Regions from separate parts of the Homo sapiens genome. Here region 1 is linked to region 2. Evidence: promoter capture Hi-C in 16 types of primary human blood cells and fetal thymus (Javierre and others, 2016). All regions are on one chromosome and are shown on one strand. The core of a region is centred on a gene start or on the middle of the fragment in contact, and the rest is flanking DNA. Distances in the headings are between cores, read along the strand shown. Region 1 overlaps IFT122 (intraflagellar transport 122). Region 2 holds the start of H1-8 (H1.8 linker histone).

Evidence for each region. The method cuts DNA at HindIII sites, captures the fragments that hold promoters and counts their contacts. A CHiCAGO score of 5 or more calls a contact.
Region 1: a contact is called between a fragment that was not itself captured here and the fragment with the promoter of H1-8 in region 2, in 1 of 17 cell types (endothelial precursors). The highest score is 6.2, in endothelial precursors.

The regions. Positions count from the first base shown.
Region 1 is chr3:129,507,859-129,512,083 of GRCh38, reverse strand. All of the region lies in intron 23 of IFT122 (intraflagellar transport 122), which reads right to left. Among named protein-coding and RNA genes, the nearest start is that of RHO, 19 kb to the left of the region's middle. The HindIII fragment of the contact is 2,177 bases long and covers 660-2,836 here.
Region 2 is chr3:129,541,094-129,545,344 of GRCh38, reverse strand. It overlaps H1-8 (H1.8 linker histone), which reads right to left and starts at 2,170. Exons shown (of 5, transcript NM_153833.3): 1 at 2,039-2,170. The coding sequence starts at 2,126. RefSeq lists an enhancer at 2,130-2,631. The HindIII fragment of the contact is 913 bases long and covers 1,435-2,347 here.

The DNA.
Region 1 (4,225 bases), core at 499-2,998, 33 kb after region 2:
CGACACCTAGATAGATGATTTGCCCAAGTCACCAACTAGAACAGAGCTGAGCTGCTGTTCAAACCCAGGTCTGATTCCAAAGCCCAAGAATGTCTTTCTTCCAAGCTGTACTGCCTCTGGAGTTGGTAATTATTCCATTTCTCTGAACTACTCAAGTTGTCTCCAATTAGCTCTAAAAGAGAAGACCTTCTATGCAGCTTAGGACATAACCACTGATTCATATAAGCCTGTCTTTCAACAGAGGCATTTAGCCCTCTCCAGCATGAACCCACATGCCTCTTCTGTGCTTTCCAACAGCAGCTTGACTGATGTGCCACCAAACGAGCACACATGCGGAGTTCCTCAACTGCTGACCCATTTCCCTGGCTCCTGGCATAGGCACTAACAGGAGGCAGTTAGCACAGATTAGTGATTGGTCTTCGTACCTAGAGGCTGCCAGAAGCTCAGCAGACAAATAAGGAATTTTCTGTGTGAGGGTCTACAAAAGGTTAAGAATACCTTATTTTGAAGGCATCTGGCACACTGTATATAAACTGAGATTGCCCATTTCTAATAAAGCTTTAGATGGTGAGGATTACAGCAGGCCAGTAACTCCTCTTTCTTGTGAGCACTTAAGAAGGGTCTTGTGAGGCCCTACTCATCACTGAGCCACCAAAGCTTAACCCCTAATTGGTCTGAACTCCTGAGGACTCACTTTGCTCTACACTTCTTCAGTTCAGAGCTTAGCATTTTCTATTTAGTTCACACGTAAATTTCTATACCTTTTGTTAGCTCCAAGAACCCAAGAAAACCTGAGACCACATCCTTTCCAGGGTAAGAACAAGATGAACTCTGCCTGTGGTTCTACTGCACTAGGTAGGGAAGCTAAGTAACGTCCCAGAGAGAATAGGTAGCAGGGGAGTCCTTTCCTCTGGGAAAGATGCCATGTATCCAGGAAGGACCTGAACTTCCCTTTCCAGTCTTGCCCTGAATCAGTGCTGCTCTGCTGGGCCCTGGATGCTGAACCACAAACTACCACTCACCTCCAGGCCTTTGCACAGGCTGTGACCTTTGCCACAAACACCCTTCCTAATCCTCCTCCACTTCACTTGCCCCATTTTTATTCTCTCCCTCCTTCTGGCTGAGAGGACACCTCCTCCAGGAAGTCTCTTCACAGGCCTCTAAACGTTTCCCCTGAGGGATTGTCCTGTTTGCTAGACTGGGACTGACTGCAGGGACAACGTTTTGTTCACCACCGTGTCACCAGGTCTCATCACAGGGTCTGTCACGTAGTAGGCATTTATTGAATGAAGGAATGGCCCAATTAATAAGATTCAGCTGGGATAAGAGCCAGGGCCCCAGCTGGTCTGAGGCCCCTTAGCTCCTAGTCCCATGTAGGTCCTGGAGCAGAGCTCAGCTGTTAGAGACAGGAGCCCTCAGCCCCATGCCCCAGGTGAGGAAGAGGACAGGGAGCAGCGAGAGAAAAGTCTGAGGGAAGGAGCTGAGAGCCAGGCTCTGGAGTGGCTTGGGCAAAGTGAGGCTGAGCTGGGCCCTGACTTCCAGCCTAAGTTGAGTCTGGGCTCCTTTTGTGGTGGTTTCTCTCCAGGTGAGCACCTGATAAAGATGAGGGACCCTGAGGGGGTCTCGTTTCAGGAAAGCCAAAGACTGTAAGGGAAGATGAGGTCCCTTGAGACCACTGACCCTGCTGTGGGAAGAGATGTAACACTAGACTGACGGCATGCACAGAGCCTGTCAGGAGTCCTTCTTGCCAGACTTTCCCAAGAGGCAAAAAATGTGCTGAGAAGTCAGCACAGATTAGAGGGAAAGAAATGCCCAAGGTGGAAGGCAGGGCATTTGAGAGGTCAAAGAACGGCGGGAAGGCTGGGCGTGGTGGCTCATGCCTGTAATCCCAGTGCTCTGGGAGGCTCAGGCAGGAGGATCACTTGAGTCCAGCAGTTTGAGGCTGCCATGAGCTATGATCATGACACTGCACTCCACCTTGGGCGACAGAGACCTCATCTCTGAAAAAAGAGAAATGCTAGATGCCCAGCTGGAGGGAGCAGGTCAGGGAAAGCTGGCGTGAAGCCTTGCCTGGAGCAGCAGTAAGGATAGCTGCCACCTAGGGTCACTCTGTGCTAGGTACTCTTCCAATATTAACTCGTCTAATCCTCAAAACAATCCCATCAAGTACATAGTGCTGTTATCCCTATTTTATAGAGAAAGAAGCTGAAGGCCAGAGAAGATAAGTAACACAGTGTCATTTGTGTGTGAGGACTCTCGAGTTTACCCACTAAACCAACATACTAGCCTGCTTTCTCTAAAAGGAGACAGGGAGGGAAAGGCTAGGAACACAGGCTCCAGTGCCAGACTACTGAGACTCACATATTGGCTCTGGAATTTGCTGTTTGATAGTAGAATACATTCTTAAATGTGGTTATGTTATACATCATTTCAACGGGCATTTCTCGCTTTATGTTTTTTTGCTAATGAGTTATTACTTACTGTTTATTTTAGACTATGCAAATGATGTTAGACAAAAAACAAATTCAAGCAGTTTTCTTATTTGAGTTCAAAATGGGTCATAAAGCAACAGAGACAACTCGTAACATCGACAACGCATTTGGCCCAGGAACTGCTAACAAACATACAGTGCAGTGGTGGTTCAAGAAGTTTTGCAAAGGAGATGAGAGGCTTGAAGATGAGGAGCATAGTGGCCGGCCACTGGAAGTTGACAACAACCGAGAGCAATCATCGAAGCTGATCCTCTCACAACTACAGGAGAAGTTGCCGAAGAACTCAATGTCAACCATTCTACGGTTGTTTGGCATTTGAAGCAAATTGGGAAGGTGAAAAAGCTTGATAAGTGGGTGCCTCATGAGCTGATAGAAAATGAAAATATAGTCGTTTTGAAGTGTTGTCTTTTCTTATTCTATGCAACAACAACAAAACATTTCTCAATCAGATGTGAGGTGTGACAAAAAGTGGACTTTACATGACAACCGTGATGACCAGCTCCACGGCTGGACTGAGAAAAAGCTCCAAAGCAGTTCCCAAAGCCAAACTTGCACCAAAAAAAGGTCATGATCACTGTTTGGTGGTCTGCTGCTGGTCTGATCCACTACAGTTGTCTGATCCTGGTGAAATGATTACATTTGAGAAGTATGCTCAGCAAATCGAGGAGATGCACCGAAAACTGCAACACCTGCAGCTGGCACTGGTTCACAGAAAGGGCCCAATTCTTCTCCACCCACCTGACTGCACATCACACAACCAATACTTCAAAATTTTGCCTCATCGCAATATTCACCTGACCTCTTGCTAACCAACTACCACTTCTTCAACCATCTCAACAACTTTTTGCAGGGAAAATGCTTCCACAACCAGCAGGATGCAGAAAATGCTTTCCAAGAGTTCGTCAAATCCCAAAGTATGGATTTTTATGCTACAGAAATAAACAGACTTATTTCTCATTGGCAAAAATGTGTTGATCATAATGGTTCCTATTTTAATTAATAAAGATGTGTTTGAGCCTAGTTATAATGATTTAAAATTCAGTCTGAAACCGCAATTACTTTTGCACCAACCTAATAACCTCTGAGACCTCTCTGTCTAGGGCTTCATTCTCATCTGTAACATGGGGGTGACAGTCCTTCCCTCAAAGTGTGGTTGAAAGGAGGAAATGACTTGATACAATGAAGCCCTCAGTACATTGCCTACTAGGTACTAAGTGCTCAACATCTGTTGGGTGATTGAGGAGATACAGTGGATGAAGAGGCTGTTGACAACCCATCACCTGTTCCCCATTGCCACCAGAGAGATTTAAAATGGCTTTCTCAAAGGAATCAGGGAGTGACTAAAAAGAACTACTTGGGTTTCTGGAGACCAAGCCAACACTCTAGTTTCACAGAGAAGGAAACTGAGGGACAGAGAGGGAAAGTGAATTGCTGAAGAACACACAAATCACTGACAGGGCCAGGGAGGGATCTCGAGCCTTTGGTTAATCTGGGCCTTCGCCCTACTGAAGGAGAGGGCCTCATGGAACTCCCACCCCTCTTGCTGGTTAATGCAGAGTTTCCCTGAGTCATCAAAGCCTGCACTGAGGAACTAGCAAGGCCCATTCCAGCTCTGGATCACAATTCAGGAGCCCACTGCTTGATGCATGGCAGACAAACAGTCAATCAAAGAAACTCAAACTTTTTCTTCCCAGAGGAGACCAAGATTCCTCAGCAGTTCACTGTGACCAGTG
Region 2 (4,251 bases), core at 921-3,420:
GAAACCGGATTTAAATGTGGTGAATGGAAATGTTGATTTCTGATCAATCTGCAGAATTTAAAGACTTAAATTCTGGGCAATATCGTGAGACCTCGACTCTACGAAAATCTTTAAAAATGAGCAGAGTGTGGTGGTGTGTGCCTATAGGCCTAGCTACTTGGGAGGCTGAGGTGGGAAGATTGCTTGAGCCTGGGAAGTGGAGACTGCAGTGAGCTGAGATCACACCACTGCACTCCAGCCTGGGTGACAAAGCAAGACCCTGTCTCAAAAAAAAAAAAAAAATTGGCTATATTAAAATTTTTTTTCAATAGAAAAAAAAAACCATGAAACTCTAGATCTAGAGCAAAATTATAAAGAGACCTAATCACTTCGACCCCTGTTGGGTCCTGGCCATGACGAGCCCAGTGTGGGAATATTCATTTGGGGGCCAAAGGCGTTGAGCTGGTGTAGTCCTGGGTCACTCCCGGGTTCTCGGGAGTTTCATTCTTCCCTCTAGGCCTCAGTCTTCCCATCCGTACAGTGGGGACGGGGGCCTCTAAGGAGGTCTGAGCCCTCCCAGCTGCAGTGCTACAGGGCTTCCCAAGGGTCTTCGCTTGGCCTGACTTCACGAGCAGCTCCAACCCCTCCTCTGCTTCCCCCAGACCATGTCTGTCCCAGAGAGCCACCCCCAGGAGTCCTCCCTCAGGTCTGTTCCCTCTCATCCCAGCCCCTCATTCGGCAGCTATTCCATGCCTGCTGTATACCAGGATGTCCAGAACAGAGCTCAGCCCCCCAAATCTGCCCCTCCTCTCTCTTCCAGGAATGCCCCATGCCCCCACTGCCCATACCTACCCAACATCCAAGCAAGAACTGGGGGCATTCTGGGCCCTTTCCTCCTCACCACACCCACTCGAGGCCTCCCCATAGGCTTTTCTCTCCATATTCTGGCCTCTCCTCTCCAACTCCCCAGCCCCAGCCTCCTCCCCACTGCCTCTTCCCCACCGCATGCATTCTCCTCGCTGTATCTCACACCCCTCACCTCCCTGCTTGAAACCGTCCATGGCTCCCTGTTCAAGATAAAAGTTGACCTAACTGAAGACCGCCTTGGAGGCCCTCCCACTGCTCCCCTAGCACTGCCCCAGCACTTCCCTCCTTCCCAGAAGGAAGATGCAGCTTCCGAGACAAGCTGCTGGTGCGCTGGCCTCTGGGCCTTAGCCCATGCCGTTTCCTCTGCCTGGGCTGCCTCTCTCCTCCCGGTCATGCAGGCTGCTCTCACTCATCCTTCAAGGCTCAAAATGCACCTTGGTTTGGACACCTCTGACTTCCCAGTTAACTCTGCCCTTTTACTTCTCGGCACCTGGACCCCCTCCCTATCTCCCTAGGTGTCTTGGCAAATAGAACACTTCCCCCGGCTGAGGCACACCCATCCTTCAGGGTCACCTCTTCTAGGAAGCTTTCCCTGACCTCCCAGAGTGGGTTAGAGGACTCCTCTGGGCTCCTCCAGCTCTGGATTACCGCCACTGAAGCACACATCACATTAGCAAACAGCAACAAGCCATGGGCCAGGCTTCCCCATCAGACCGGGAGGTCCTCGAGGGAGTGAACTGGGCCTGGTTTGCCTCGGTGCACCCTCATGTCCAGATAAACCCTGAGGTGTTTTTTGGTTGAAAATCGGAATGCCTAGCCCTGCATAAAATGCTCCTGCCCCAGTCCCTCCAACTAGCTGCCCACAGCTGCAGCCTGGCTACGGGCTACGGTCCCAGCAGGAAACGGGCTCCAGCTGGAAGGCCCTGTGGCTCTTCCCTGAGCGAGGCCGGCCCCAGCCCCCAGGCCCTACCTGGCCTTGCTACCTGTAGATCAGCTCTTCAGCCAAAAGGCAGTTGAGCTCAGCAGCTTGGTGCTGGGTGGGTGCTGGGTGAGTGCTGGGTGAGTGCTGGGTGGGTGCTGGGTAGGTGCTGGGGCCAGGCTGGGAAAGAACGAGAAGCAGGGGTGGAGCATCAAAGGCAACCCAGGGAGTGGGCTCGCAGGGATGAGGGAGGAGCTGCCTCCTCTTGCTCACCTGGCTTTTCAGATTCAGGAGACCTGGATGATCCTGCTGTGGAAGTCGAGGAGGGTGAGATGTCGCTGGTGACGCTCCCAGGAGCCATGAGACCGACAGGTGCAGCCAGCAGACCCCTCACCCGGGTGTGAGGCTGCTGGGCCTGCCCACTAGGCTTATATACCAGCAGCCCACCCCCACCACTCCAATCAGCCCTGATTGGGCTGGGAGTGCTCCAAGCTGCTGACTGGGGCTGGAGGTGTGGAATGGGGCACAGCATCCTGCCTTCTGTAGGGAGCCCCAGCTGGACTACCCACTCCTGTGTAAGCTTGGGGGTGTCGCTTGACTTCTCTGGGTCTCAGTCCCCATGGTGCAATGTTGGGAGCTGAGATGCTTGATCTCGCCTGTGCCCTCTGCCCACCAGGGGCTGGAGATGCTGATGAGGAATTGGGGTCACCTGTGTTGTCAGGGAGGCCGCTGAGGCGGCCCTCTAATCCTACCAGGTGGGCAATGGGCTGCCCCACGCCACTGCTGGCCTCAATTTCTCAAAAAGTAGCAGTTGGAGGCAGCCCAACTGCTACTTTTGCCCAGAGCACATGCCCCTCAATCAGAGTAGCCCCTTCTGAGGCCAGCCAGGCTCTCTGGGCCTATGCCCTCCTTTGGTTTTGTTTTTAAAGAAATAAATCAATAACGGAGGATGCTTCACAAAAGTCTTCATAGATAAGGACAACATCCACTGGGACAATGGACAAAGAATATAAACAGGCAATTCACCAGCCTAAAGGGTGAGGAACAGAAACAGGAAAATGGACACTCAACTTCCTTGGCATTTGAGAAAATTCAAATTGAAACAATGGTGAAATACTACTTTTTCCCATCAAATTGACAGACAAAAAAAAAAAACTTTCCAAGCAAACACCCAAGGCCTGGCTAAATCACACCCTTTCTGCAGAATATTCTGCAGCCATCTAAAATGACAAGGTGGGCTGGTGCGGTGGCTCAGGCCTGTAATCCTAGCACTTTGGGAGGCTGAGGTGGGCGGATCACCTGAGGTCAGGAGTTTGAGACCAGCCTGGCCAACATGGTAAAACTTCATCTCTACTAAAAATACAAAATTAGCTGGGCGTGGTGGTGTGCACCTGTAGTCCCAGCTACTTGGGAGGCTGAGGCAGGAGAATCACTTGAACCTGGGAGCTGGAGACTGCAGTGAACCAGGATCGAGCCATTGCACTCCAGCCTGGGCAACAAGAGCGAAACTGTGTCTCAAAAATAAGTAAATAAAAATAAAATAAAATAATATAATATAATATAAAATGACAAGATGGATTAAAACAAGGATGAGAGGCCAGGCATGGTGGCTCATACCTGTAATCCCAGAACTTCGGGAGGCTGAGGCAGGAGGATCGCTTGAGCCCAGGAGTTCAAGACCAGCCTAGGCAAAAAAGTGAAATCCTGTCTCTACCAAAAAATACAAAAATTAGCTGGGCATGGTGGTGTGCACCTGTAGTCCCAGCTACCTGGGAGGCCGAGGCAGGAGGATTGCTTGAGCCTGGGAGGTCAAGGCTGCAGGGAGCTGTGATCACACCCCTGCACTCCAGCCTGGGCTACAGAGTAAGACCCTGCCCCCCCCAAAAAAAAGGGGGAGGGAAAGAAAAGAAAACAAACAAGAATGAGGCTGTATTTCACACTCAGCAAAATGACAAAGATGTAAGTGTCTATCAATAGTGAGTGACTAGGATTCAAGGAAAGTATAGCTGCTGGGGGGTGGGGAGTGAGCTGGTAGCCGCCTTAGAAAGCAATTCAGCGATGTTTCATACAACTAAGGAGGGACTCACTCCACAACCCACCTATTCCACTCTAGGCGTAGATCTGAGACAAACATATACACTTACGTGCAAAGATGTTTATTTCAATCTTAGCAGAAATTCAAAACAACATAAATGCCCATCAGGTGGAGAGTGAACAAGTAAACTGTGGCCTATTCGCACAGTGGAGTAGTATGCAGTAGTGAAAAGGAGTGAACCAGAATGTATCGGAGAGTACACCCCAACTACTGAGAAGACAAAACTTGCGTGTGTGTGTGTGTGTGTGTGTGTGTGTGTGAAGGCACAATAGTTCTTTTTAATTTTTAAAAAATTTTTTTGTTTTTTTATCTTACCAGTCACAAGCAGTAGAAAAAAGTTCTGAATGGATTCATACCAAGGTAATAGTAGAAGTGGTTACCTCTGAGGAAG